2 separate regions of the Homo sapiens genome follow, and region 1 is linked to region 2. The links are contacts of gene promoters, found by promoter capture Hi-C in blood cells and fetal thymus (Javierre and others, 2016). All regions are on one chromosome and are shown on one strand. Each heading gives the region's core, a stretch centred on a gene start or on the middle of the fragment in contact. The rest is flanking DNA. Distances are from core to core; before and after follow the strand shown.

Region 1 (6,782 bases), core at 2,314-4,813, 2.4 Mb after region 2:
CCCTAGGCACTTTTACCTTCATGAGTCCCTTCTTCTATAAAACAATAGAAAAAAAATTTTACAACCGTGTTCGTAGAAAGACAAATATATTAACATTATATATTAAAATATTTTCTTCAATATAAAAGAACTAACTTTCATTTTCTTCTGATTTTAAAAGAAATTAAGACATTTTCGTGGGCCCATAAAGTCCTGGGGGCCTGAGTACTGTTTCTAATGGAGAAGCTACACCTGACAGACAAACTATGGGTATTCAGAATTGGGTGTACGTAGGGCTGAATACTCCACGAGGCACAGTTTTAATATACAATATTAATTTATTTGTCTTTATACCAGTGCAGTTGTCTTTTTAGTGGAGGAAAGGGCCCATGCAGGCAAAAATGCCTATGGCCCATGAAAGTCATAATGTGGTCCTTTGTTTGTGGTAGACATTTTCTTGAAAATGAATGAAATGAACCTGTCATTTCTAGGAAAATCACTGTGACATTATGTTGTCAGTGATAAACTTGAGCTTTCAAGCAGAAATTACAATTTTGGGAAACTCGTATCTGCCACCAAGAGCTTGACAACTTCCCAATACTCAAAAACCTTCAGATGAGATCAGTGGTGCTATTAATAGATGTGATTTTCTAATATTGTACAATGAAATGTGTTTACATTTGTAAGATCCGTATAAATCAGTGAACTGATATTTCCCAAATGATCAATGTATGATTTTACCAAATTATGCATAGCTAAAGGACCCAGTCAAGATATAAAATAGGCCAATGGATTTTAATGTATTAACTGAGTTCAAAAGTTTATTGATTTTTTTTTTCAGGTTCTACATTGCACTTAACCTTTAAGAAACGACTCCTTGCATTTTGGTGTGGTATGAAAAAAGAACATCTGTAATTATCTGAAAAGGCGATTAAAATCCTCTATTCTTTCCCATATACATATCTACATAAGGCTGAATTTTCTTCACATACTTCAAACAAAACAACATATAGTGACCGACTGAATGCAGGAGGAGGCATGAAACCAGCTATCTTCTATTACACCAGACATTCAAGAGCCGTGCAAAACTGTAAAACAATGCCACTCTTCCCACTAATTATTTTTGTTTGGAAAGTATAATTATTTTTCTAAAATACATTATTTATGTAATATAATTTCTTTCCATGTTAACATTTTTAAAATAAATTAATAAATATTTACTTTTTCTCAGTTTTTATTTCTAATAAAGCAAATATTGATAGATGTAACCTATAAAACAAAAGCTCTTCAGGGTTCTCAGTAATTTTTAAGAGGGTCAAGGGAAACCCAAACAGTTCCAGTAATGTTATTGTAGAACAACTACCCAGTAAAATGCTCATAAAGAACCATTAAGTTTAAAGTGCAGGTGACAATCACTAAATAGAGTAGAAACTCTGTATGTTTAATGTTAAGTGGATATAGATAAAAAGGCTGGAATGGGAGCAGGCTGTTCTCTCCTAGCAATGAATGTAGAGTGAGTTTTATTTTTTGAGCATTTTTATTTTTCATGTTTTCAGAATGAGCATAGCTTTGTCATTGGAAAAAAATAAAAAACCTTTAACAGAAGAAGAAGCAATAGCAGCAGCAGCAGCTGGTACCCCTCTCTGAGCCAGATTAGGGGAGGAGACAGGTCACCGAAGTGGAAGAACAGGACACACAAAGCGCAGGAGGAGAGAGGGGAGAGAAGGTGGAGGCTTCTGGAGAAGGATGAGGTCAGAGCTGCTGCACTGAACAGCTCCAGAGGACAAAGGTCCTAGTGTGTTCTATGAGAATGGCACGCTGTAGAGGGGCATGGAGGTGGGGCCGCCCCAAGATCAGCTCTTGGAGGAGTGTAGACTTTAATTCCACCTGGTGGTCCCTACAGAACGGAGAGTCCTTGCCCAAAGGCACAGAGAAGGATGGAACAACAATGTGGTGTGTGGGGGAGGGTCTCTGCACCTTTCCTGACATCTTTTCTTCGGGAGATCCTCATAGAACCATAATGCTTTGTTTTGGGACCAGAAGCATCATAAGCATCATCATTTTTCCAGCTTCATCTCCTGTTACTTTCCCCTTCACCCATTCTACTCCAACCTCACACTCGCTCTGTCTTGACTATTTTGGACACACTCCTACCCCAGCCTTTGCACTTGCTATTCCTCATGCTCGGCGCAGTTCTTCCCCAGACATCCACACGGCTTGCTCCCTCAATTTCTTCAGGCTTTAAATGTTACTTTCTCATAGAGGCCTTCTCTTGTATTTGAGCCTCACTCTTATCTCACACTTCCTATTCCCCTTCTCCGCCTTATTTTTCTCCACCCCATGGAGACCCTCTGACACATTCTCCCGTTTGTCTGTCTTTCCCCCACGAGACTGCAAACTACAGGAGGGCAGAGATTTCTGCCTGTTCTCTTGGCTGTTTCATATCCAGCACCCAAATCGATGTATGACACAAAATACGTTCTCAGTACTTAATCGAATTAACGAATGCATGAATGGCAGGTATTGGACATTGTTTTGCAAACTCTTAAAGTAAGGTGTAAAGCATCCCGGTGAGGTGGAGGTTACTGCCGCTGCGATTCCCGCGCAGCCTGAGGACTGGGGGGTGGGGGTGGGGGTCTCTAATTACCTCCATAATCCCCAGTAGCGGCACTTTAAACTTCACATCAACCCTGAGGGATGTGTATTATTATCCAAATTTAGTTCACAGCTGGATGGAGAAGTGGCTTCCGGCTCCACACTTTGGAGGGAGGGGAGTAGAGGGCAGGCCCCCATTTAAGTACCCGGGATGGGGCACCAATGCCTTCAGGCGGTAAACCAATTTAGGAAGACGTGGCGGGCTTTGTGGCGGCTCCTCCTCTTTCGGCCTGTCCGCAGTTTTTAAAAAACGTGTGTGATGATAAGGAATCACTGTCTACATTAGTAATTCCCAACTTGGGTCCGAAAGTGAACTTTTGCTGAAGCGAAGTAGCTAACCGCTTCCATGTGCAAGGCAGGTTCCAGACTTCGGGGTGAGGAGGATTAACTGAAGGACCCCAGGGGAACCGGGTGCGCAGTAATTGATCTTGGGGCAGACCAGGGCTTGGCGGTGGCCTGTATCTAAAGACAGCGGGGTCTCTGAGGCGGGGCAGGGGGGAGTTGGCATTGACTGGGGAGGGAAGAGCGATCGCTGGTAACAGCCATTGTGCCTTCCCACTGGGTTAGTGGGAAGGTTCCTAAAGATGCCGTGGCAGCGACAGTCCCGTGCTCAGAGCCAGGCACACAGTAGGCGTTCACTCGAGACGCAGAGTCTGGGACGCGCCCTGAAGAAGCTCCTCTCCAGGGGCCTGGCCCTTCCCAAGGACTGGGCTCTGGGCGTCCCCGGGGTCATGGGTCAGACCTCGCGTCCGGGGTGCGGGCTGGTGCCTGGGCGCAGAGCGGCCGGCGTCAACGGGTAGGGCGCGGGCCCGGGGTCAAGGCCGGGGCGCCGGGCGGCACGGGCGCGGAGGCCGGACGCTCGGGGCCGCGAAGGGATGTGACGAGCGGCGCGCTGTGCATTGTGGGAAGCCGGCCGCGAGGACTGGTTCCAGTTCACTCGGCAGCGGCGCCGGGCGGAGGGGGAGAGCGCGGGCCGCGCGGGCGGGAAGCGAAGAGGCGGGCGGGCCAGCGAGGAGCGCGGAGAGAAAAGGCGCGAGCGGCCAGGAGGGCTCAGGCCGAGACACCTTGCAGCTGCCGCCGCCGCCACCGAGCCGCCGCGTAAGTGCCGCGCGGGCCCCCTTGCCGCACTCCCTGTCCCCGCCGCTCGGGTCCGGCCGCGGGTGCCCGGGAGCGGCCCGGCCTGGCGCGCACCGGTGTGGTGCGGGCCGGGCTCGGGCCGCCGGGTTCGGTGTGGCCCACGCCGGGTCCTCGCGCGTGCACTACGTCCTCCCAGGCCTTGTCGGGCCGCGCGGGATTCCCTTTGGTTTTGTTCAAAAAAGAAACCTGGAAACCAACTTCTCTTCGAAACGCATCCCCCTGCCCGCGCCTGGGCGCTTTTGTGGGAAAAAAGCGGTGCTGGCGCCTACCCTGGCGACCCTTCCTGGGGCGGGCTCACGGGCCAGGCCCGAGGCCGCAGGAGGCCCCGCGGCGCTGGCTAGGCAGTCTGGGCCTGGGCACCCGGGAGCTGCTGTGAGCAGAGTTGTACTTGGTGAGGCCCCCGCCGGCCCGCGAGTTGCCGGCCCCGGCACAATAAGTCGGGCCCGAGCCCCGGGGGGCCGAGGTGTAGGCGTCTGGCTCGCTATCTGCAGGGAGGGGAAGGCGGGGGCTACTCGCGGGATTGAAGCCGGGCTGGTGCGGGGGACCGGGTTGGGGAGTGGTCCAAGGATGGGCTGGAGAGGGGCCACGGGAACCCCCGCTGCTCCCGATTGTCTCGGTATCAGCCTTTTGTTTGCTTTGTGGTAGGAAGGGTTTGCTTTTTTTAAAAGGTAACTCCGGAAGGCTGTAGGCTTCCCCGGGTGGAGAAGGCCAGCAGGAAAGAGCCTCGCTGGGGGTGGGGTGGAGTGGGGAGGTGAGTGTGCAGGATGCTGCTGGCAGTGTCACCTGACAACAGGTGTGCGACATGGCGCTCCCTACCCCCACTCCTGCAGGGGCCACAGATCACTCAAGGAGTTGGTCAGTACATTGCTTGAAAGGTTCTTTTAGACAAGATGTTAGGGGAAATGTTTCTGAGTTTCAAAGTGAGAGACTTCTGTACAAACAACTGGGACAAACCTTGAATTCAACAATTACAATGACTATAAAGGCCTTGTAAGATTTTAATGACCCAGTAAACAGCACATAAGAATAGACAATTAGAGGGGGCACTCCTGCTAGCTTCCCTCTTTTCTTCCACCTTTGTGGTTTGAGGTTTTACCGTTAAAGTAGGGGGTAAGGGAAGTGTTTTGTTCCAAAGCTCCCTGCTCCAGGGAGTCGGGCATTTTTTAACAGTCTTAGGTTTGAATGGGAGACTCGAGTTGTAAATTAGGTGGAATTCACCTACTGCAGGCCACCTTTAGGCTACTAGCCTGTTGTCAGAGGTGTTAACTCTGAAATGGACACCTCTTGCCTGCAACTGGAATTAATACCCATTGTACACATTTAACTAGAGTTGGGCAGCAGCATCTCAGTCTTGCACAAGAGACTCTCTGATGAGGATGAGTATGTTTTCAAACTTATTTTTTCTTAAACACAACAAAACTCTTGAAAGACTTCAAATTCTTCCCCCTTCTAGTTTTACAAGGAGAGAGAAATCTTTCCAGTCTGTTCTTTGGCTTCGATCTGTCACCATTGTTAATGCTGATCCCTAGATAAGGCATTAAGAGGGTTGTCTAAATGAAAATTGTTTGAGGCAGGCCTTTAGAAGGAGGCATAATTTAACTCACATTTTATTAAACTTTAAGAATTGTCTGGAACTTCACATGTGACATTCTAGTATACAACCATGCCACTGGTTTAGTTTTTACCAAATGGGCCAGTGTCAGGGAGTGACACATCTCCATCTGATGTTTCTTCTGGTCCCTGAGAGAGGCGAACTTGAGGAGCGCCTCGCATTCCTTCCCCACTGAGAAGCTCAGAGGGCATGTGTTCTGGGACCTGCCTTCAGAGCTAATGCGGCCCCAAGTCACCTAAAGGAGATTTATTTAAATAAAAGCATAAACTGAAAACCTCAAGCCGAAGAACCCAACAAGACTCTATATGTGTTGTTCATCAGAACTGCAACAGCCTCTGGTTTTATTTGAGTGTCCCCAAGGATTTGTGACAGCCTTTTCAGAGCCCCATTCCTAGAACATGGGCTGGGAAGGGGCAGGAGTGATTGGGGCCCAGATCTCTGTGGGTCCTTCCCATATTCTGTAGGTTTAGAGGTCTTTTGGGCCCTGCCTCAGTGCTTACAAGTGAGCCTGAGTGAGTCAACTCTTCATTCCAAAGAGTTGTATAGCTTGTTTGCTTGGACCAAACCTGTCAGGTCAGTGTCTCAGAGTCTTTCCATAAAGATTTCCTGAGAATCAGCTCCTGTTCAGGCACTGGGGACACAGCCGTGATTAAGAAATGCCTAGCCCCTACCTTGGGGGAGCTGACTTTGGGAGAAGGCAGGCAAGTAGCTGTTGTAAAATCAGTGCAAAAGGCCCCACGTAGCCCCCCAGCAGGTACAGTAACCTAGCCAGGAGTGAGCCCTTATCTGGCTTGGAAAGGTCAAGCAGGAGATGGCTGGGCAAAGGAGGGCAGATGGGGACAAGTGTTTGAGGCCTGGGGAACCCCATGTGTGCATCTTAGAAGAAAAGAACAGAGGTCATGTGGGGAACTGCCAGAGGCTCGGGATGGCTGAGTCCTGGTGCGGAGTCAGGTGAGGCTTCAGGGAGGGACAAACAGGACAAATCACAAAGGATTCTGGTCAGACCCACACTTTATCCTAAGAGCAACTGAAGGGTTTTGAGCAGGAGAGAGACAGGATCAGGTGTTCTTTTTATTCTTATTGGGAACACGTCTACTCGGCAAATAATGAGTGGATTCTACATGCTAAGCCTTATCAGAGTCCTGTCCTGTGAAGCCCACACTTTAACTTTTCTCTAAATAGCCTTCCGTGAGACTGGTTATCTTAAGAGTTTGGCACAACCTTTAAAAGAGAGAGGAGTATGTAGAAAAGTTTTTTTGTAAAGCAGGCAGGCAGTAACTTGCTGTTAAAATGTAGCAAGCTGCACAGTTCCTTCAGTGCATCTCGGGAAGCGCATCACCGAATGGGTTTGCAGAGGTGAAATTTCAATCCCAGACTAGCTTCCCCAAAACTGTTTCTT
Region 2 (6,812 bases), core at 2,189-4,688:
ATTAAATGTAATGCACTTGAATCATCCTGAAACTACATCCTGGTCTGTGGAAAAATTGTTTTTCACAAAATAGGTCTCTTGTGCCAGAAAAGTTGGGCACTGCTGGTAAACTATTATTTAAAAACAATGTAGGCAAAAACTATCTACCAAAATTGTAAATTCCTAAAGTAACAGTTTTCATAAGTTATGGTCTTTATTCCTTCAGGAGTTCATCTTTTACTGTTTTAAGATTTGGATGACTCTGAAACAGTGGTGCCATCTCAGCTAACAACAGCAGCATCTGCCTTCTGGGTTCAAGCAATTCTCCTGCTTCAGCCTCCCAAGTAGCTGGGACTACAGGCATGCGCCACCACACACGGGGTTTCAATTTGTTAGCCATGCTGGTCTTGAGCTCCTGACCTCAAGTGATCCGCCTGCCTCAGCCCCCCCACAGTGCAGGGATTACAGGCACGAGCCACTGTGCCCAGCCCATTTTCCCCTTTCTTTATTATCAATAGGCAAATCCTGACATTTGAATTTTTTTTGTAATAACAAGGTTAATAGCTTTCTACTGTCCTCTTTCATTTTTTTAATGTCATTTATCACTATCTAACATGCCATATACCACTCTTATTTGTTTATTGTCTGCTTCTTCCCACTAGAATGTAAGCATCATGAGGGCAGAGGTTTTTGTCTGTTGTTTACAGCCATATTGCCAGCACCAGGCATAGGATTCATATAATTGGATAAACTGAGCACTTACTGTGTACCAGGCATGTATACATGTTTACATGTAGAATCTTATTTAATTTTCACTACAACAGAAAGATGTTTTATTATTCCCATTTTAAGATAATAAAACTGATTACATTTTTTTAAAAGGTTAAGTAACTTAGCCAAAGTCACATAACTGAATGGTTACAGGGTAAGTGATAGATCAGACTAGTTTACCCTCAAACCTTAGCCCATCTATTTACCTTTGTTACAGTATCCAAACTACTTAACCTAAGATTCAGCACATTCCATAGTATCATTTCATAGTACCAAAGACCCTCAACCTATCTTACCTCTCACTATTTTCTATCTAAAACTGCCTGCTTCTCTCAAACTAACTGGCCCACTCCCTGTCTCTTGAAGCTTATGTTCCCTCTGGATTTTGCTCAAATAAACTCCCTACAGAAATCTTTTTTTTTTTCCTTTCCAACTTTTATTTTAGGTTCAAGGGATACGCGTGGAGGTTTGTTATGTGGGTAAATTGTTAGTCTTGGGGGTTTGGTGTATAGATAATTTTGTCACCCAAGTCATCAGCATAATACCTGATAGGTAGCTTTTTAGTCCTCACCCTCCTCCCACCCTCCATCCTTAAAAAAGACCTGATGTCTAATGTTCCCTTCTTTTGTGTCCATGTGTACTCAATGTGTAGCTCCCACTTATAAGTGAGAACTTGTGGTATTTGGTTTTCTGTTCCAGCCTTAATTTGCTTAGGATACTAACTAGTCTTTGGCTCTGAGGTTCAGTGCAACTTCCAATTCTTTCCTAAATCTTTCCTGAATACTTGAGGATACAGTGAGGAATTCCTCTTAACTTCTTCAGCGTTTACCATATGGTTTTGGAGGCTTTTGGTCACGTAATGCCTCATATTAACTATGTCCCACCCCATTTATCTTGCTTGGCACACAAAGGCTCAATAAATGGAAGCCATTGTAATTTTCTTCCATTCCCATCTGAGTGAGGGCACTAAAAGCAGTAACTTAGGGGTATATGATCTCTCTCTCTGTAAAACATTCGTCTAACCCAACATCTTTAAAAAGCTAACATTCTACTTTTGGGAGGCCGAGGCGGGCAGATCACTAGGTCACGAGTTTGAGACCATCCTGACCAACATGGTGAAATCCCGTCTCCACTAAAAATACAAACATTAGCCAGGTGTGGTGGTGCCCGCCTGTAGTCCCAGCTACTTGGGAGGCTGAGGCAGGAGAATCGCTTGAACCCGGGAGGTGGAGGTTGCAGTGAACCAAGATCGTGCCATTGCATTCCAGCTTAGGCAAGACTCCGTCTCAAAAAAAAAAAAAAAAAAGCAAAGTTAACATTCTAGGCCAGGCGCGGTGGCTCACGCCTGTAACCCAGCACTTTGGGAGGCCGAGGCAGATGGATCACCTAAGGTCAGGAGTTTGAGACCAGTCTGACCAACATGGTGAAACCCCATCTCTGCTAAAATACAAAAATTAGCCGGGTGTGGTGGTGGGCGCCTGTAATCTCAGCTACTCAGGAGGCTGAGGCAGGAGAACAGCTTGAACCCAGGAGGCGGAGGTTGCTGAGCCGAGATTGCGCCAGTGCACTACAGCCTGGGCAACAAGAGTGAAACTCCATCTCAACAACAACAAAAAAGCTAACATTCTAGTTCAAAGAAAGCAACACATAGATGATGTAAATTACACATAAAAAACCATTCACTGAGGTTAAATGAAAATGTCTGCTGGAGTGTGCCAAGGGGACCTGAAAGGGCCTCCTCTGAGAGGGCATCGTGGGAGGGCTTCAAGGAGGGCGGGAGGGTGGCAGGGAGGCAGGGATGTCGCGCCTCGTCTGGTTCCTAATGTCTGAAGTTCTTTTGGTTCCCTGTTGTCTTTCACACCGCCGCCTCGGGCTCGCTTTTGCGCAGGGCCACGTGGCAAAGTTTTAGTTTAACCGCACGTCGGGCCCACTGTAAACGGTTAATAACCGCCTTCGTGGACCAGGCCTCTGCCCTCCATCTTTGTGCGGGCGGGAGGTGGGGCGGGGACGCCAGGTGTAGCGGACAAGCGGAGAGGCGGCGGGTAGATCCGGGCCCCCAACCCCAACAGTCAAGTTTTCAAAAAGCCCGCGCGTGGCGCCCCAGACCGCATCCGTTGGGAATGGCCCCCAGCGCGCCCCCTGCTCTCTCCCCGGCAAAGCCCTGGGCGGGAGAAGGCGCGGGGGTGGTAGGCCGGCTCTGCACGCCGGGGGCGCCGGGGCAAGCGCGCACCGGGGAGCGCGCCCGTCCAACAGCTGCCGAAAACGGAAGTGGGTGCGAGGGGATCACGGTGATTGGCTGAACTCAGATGTCTCTCAAGGGGCTGGCGCGAACGCCACTGCGGAGTTGGGCGAGGGGATGAGTAAAGGGGAGGGGGAGAAACACTGGGAACAGCCGCGGTGCTAGGAGGAAATGAATCGCGGTGGTGCGCGGAGGGCAGGGAGGGACCCATGTCAAGGGACAGTGGGGCGCTCGGGAATGAAAGTGGGCTGGCAGAAGCGGAAGCGGGAGCGGCACAGGCCGCGGGCTTGAATAGACCGCGGAGGGCGGGGAGTCCGTGATCTAGAGCGGCGCTGCGGCGCGGTAGGCGGGATTAAGGGGAGCGAGGCGGGGATTGGCTGGTAGCCCTAGGCTGCCGTACGTCGGCGGTGACGCACGCCTCGGGGAGGGTGCGCGCGCGTTCAGCGGCCTCTTTGTGTGGTGCCCAGATAGGGGAGCGGAGGTGGCGGCGGCGGCGGTAGCGGTGGCCTTGGTTGTCTTCCAGTCTCCTCGGCTCGCCCTTTAGCCGGCACCGCTCCCCTTCCCTCCCCCTTCCTCTCTTCCTTCCTTCCCTCCCCTTCCCTTTTTCCCTTCCCCGTCGGTGAGCGGCGGGGGTGGCTCCAGCAACGGCTGGGCCCAAGCTGTGTAGAGGCCTTAACCAACGATAACGGCGGCGACGGCGAAACCTCGGAGCTCGCAGGGCGGGGGCAAGGCCCGGGCCTTGGAGATGGAGAATTCTCAGTTGTGTAAGCTGTTCATCGGCGGCCTCAATGTGCAGACGAGTGAGTCGGGCCTGCGCGGCCACTTTGAGGCCTTTGGGACTCTGACGGACTGCGTGGTGGTGGTGAATCCCCAGACCAAGCGCTCCCGTTGCTTTGGCTTCGTGACCTACTCCAATGTGGAGGAGGCGGACGCCGCCATGGCCGCCTCGCCCCATGCCGTGGACGGCAACACTGTGGAGCTGAAGCGGGCGGTGTCCCGGGAGGATTCGGCGCGGCCCGGTGCCCACGCCAAGGTTAAGAAGCTCTTTGTCGGAGGCCTTAAAGGAGACGTGGCTGAGGGCGACCTGATCGAGCACTTCTCGCAGTTTGGCACCGTGGAAAAGGCCGAGATTATTGCCGACAAGCAGTCCGGCAAGAAGCGTGGATTCGGCTTCGTGTATTTCCAGAATCACGACGCGGCAGACAAGGCCGCGGTGGTCAAGTTCCATCCGATTCAGGGCCATCGCGTGGAGGTGAAGAAAGCAGTCCCCAAGGAGGATATCTACTCCGGTGGGGGTGGAGGCGGCTCCCGATCCTCCCGGGGCGGCCGAGGCGGCCGGGGGCGCGGCGGTGGTCGAGACCAGAACGGCCTTTCCAAGGGCGGCGGCGGCGGTTACAACAGCTACGGTGGTTACGGCGGCGGCGGAGGCGGCGGCTACAATGCCTACGGAGGCGGCGGCGGCGGTTCGTCCTACGGTGGGAGCGACTACGGTAACGGCTTCGGCGGCTTCGGCAGCTACAGCCAGCATCAGTCCTCCTATGGGCCCATGAAGAGCGGCGGCGGCGGCGGCGGTGGAGGCAGTAGCTGGGGCGGTCGCAGTAATAGTGGACCTTACAGAGGCGGCTATGGCGGTGGGGGTGGCTATGGAGGCAGCTCCTTCTAAAAGAAAATTTAAAATGCCTGGGAGTGGCTATAGGGGTAGCTCTTTCCAACAGCCCAAGTGGGGTCAACTCCTAAGCCCCACCCCCTCACACACACCGCCTTCCCTGTTTTGCCCTTGGGGGAGCCACTTCTAAGGCTGCTTACCCTTGGGGGTGTTCCTCTATTTGCCTGCCACCTCTCTTGTCTCTCCCTCTGAAGATGGACTCGGCCCCACATACACATTTTTGTGTTACAGTCATTGATGGACTCTATTTTTTTATTATTACTTGGACCTTGGTCGTTTTTATACTAGCAAAATGTCTTGTTTTAATTTGTGTTTTTTGGGGGGAGGGAGGGAGTGAACTTGCTGATTCTGTAGCAAAACCTGGGTGGGGGTTGGGGTGGGGGGTAGTTTACTTTGTTGTAAGGACTTGATAACCTGGCTACAGCGTTTTCTATGAAATCTACTTGGATCCCATGCCTGAAATTTGGAAGCATATGTACAAAAATCATTTTTACGTTTTATTTTTAATAAATCATTGTGTTTGACCGTACATGTCTAACATTTTTTTTCTAGGATCCATTCCGTACCGTTTTTTAAGGGATATTTGTTTAAGACTTTACGTGTTAATTCTTTATTCTTGATGTGTACTTAGAGAAACTTAAGAGGTCCTGTGGTTTTTTTCCCCTCTCCTGTTGCCCTGCTAGTTGCGTGTTGAATTATATCCCTTACAGGCAAAACTTTTGAAGTGGTGGATGTGGCTTTTTAAACTCTTAAGTTTCTGTGCATCCATCTCTTGTACTAAGCGAATTGTTTATCATCTTGACATGGTTGGTCATTTCTATGACAATTTACTTCAAACTGTGTACTGTGTAGTTCTATATAGTTTGTGTTAAGCATGTCATTCATATAAACTGTTTAAAATTTTTCAGATGGCCTAGTTTCATCCCTCTTACTGGTTTGTCTGTAATGAATGGTTAAAAATAAGGGTTATATTTTACCCTCAAATGCGTTTTTGTACTTTCAGAGCAGGTTTAAACGTTTTTTTTTTTTTTTTCCTATATCCGAACTGTTGGCCTCATGGAAATCCCTTTCCCGATCTTTGTAGCACCATCTACTGGCAGAATGGCAGAGTAGCTGCGAAACAATTTGTTTAAAAACTTGCTTAAGACAATTGCATCAGATTTGGAAGTTTTGCCATCAAAATTCTTTGCAGAATTGGAAGTTAACACATTTGCTTGTAACTGAGATGGGCTTCACAGGAATGTAGTTGCCAGTTCATATCACAATAGCCCTTTCTATATGAGGTTTGAAAATGTAAACTGCTATGCATAGCTTGGGCAATAGCCCTAAATTGCTATGACAACTAATGAACCAGCTACGTATACTGGTATTTTAGGTGCAAGTTGTAAAGCAAAATATCTGTGTATTCTGCTTGGTTAACAAATGTATATTTGTAGCCCTTTCCTGCAATAGCATTCAAGTTGTTGTTTATAAGAGAAGAACAAAAGTGATAATAGGTGAAAATTGCCTTTCTGGATAGAAATAGAGAATAGCAACGTTTATGGATATCACAAATAAAGAATTCAATTCTTTACATGATTGAGTGAGAGTATGTATAACCTGGTGGGTGGGTTCAGAGTACCTTTTAATCTAGTATGCTTAACTTGATGTTAATATTTAACTTAAATATTTGACTTACATGTTGACGTTGAAGGCTCAAAGCTATACTAAGAAGCTTTCTGAAAGATTGGGCTTTAAAATAAAATAATATTTTAATATTGAACCATTTTTTAACTTCTTGTCACTGTTCAATTCCTAAGGTCTAGTTCTTGCCAGTTTTTTTTTTTTTTTTCCTGATTGGCAGGGCTTTTAAAGAAGTAAGAAGAAAGGTTAAGATTATTAGGCTAGGTTATAGCTGCTCAGTAGTCATTTTGACAAAGGGTAGCGGATGGTTGGTACAAATAGTGTTATATCCTCTATGACAAACGGGGTGGATGTTTTTACACATTGAGGTAATACATAGTCAAATCCTTTGCTCTCAAATAGTTGTACACTTTCCATACATTTCTGTCTTATTTTTTAATTCTAGTGATACACAAATTACATGTGGGCTACTTCATTTGGTAATTTGGTCCAGCTTTTTGGTGGCTGTAGAGTGGCCTCTAGGATACAGAAAAT

What was found. The method cuts DNA at HindIII sites, captures the fragments that hold promoters and counts their contacts. A CHiCAGO score of 5 or more calls a contact.
Region 1: a contact is called between the fragment with the promoter of MACROH2A1 here and the fragment with the promoter of HNRNPA0 in region 2, in 1 of 17 cell types (neutrophils). The highest score is 7.4, in neutrophils.

What each region holds. Positions count from the first base shown.
Region 1 is chr5:135,396,012-135,402,793 of GRCh38, reverse strand. MACROH2A1 (macroH2A.1 histone) reads left to right here and starts at 3,563. Exons shown (of 9, transcript NM_138610.3): 1 at 3,563-3,732. RefSeq lists enhancers at 2,306-2,811, 2,812-3,317 and silencers at 3,218-3,677, 3,688-3,857, 4,168-4,227. The HindIII fragment of the contact is 9,460 bases long and covers 1-6,782 here.
Region 2 is chr5:137,750,989-137,757,800 of GRCh38, reverse strand. It overlaps HNRNPA0 (heterogeneous nuclear ribonucleoprotein A0), which reads left to right and starts at 3,438. Exons shown (of 1, transcript NM_006805.4): 1 at 3,438-6,812. The coding sequence starts at 3,735. The coding sequence ends at 4,652. RefSeq lists a silencer at 2,719-3,078 and enhancers at 2,706-3,397, 3,659-4,008, 4,519-4,678, 4,088-4,779. The HindIII fragment of the contact is 5,253 bases long and covers 1,119-6,371 here.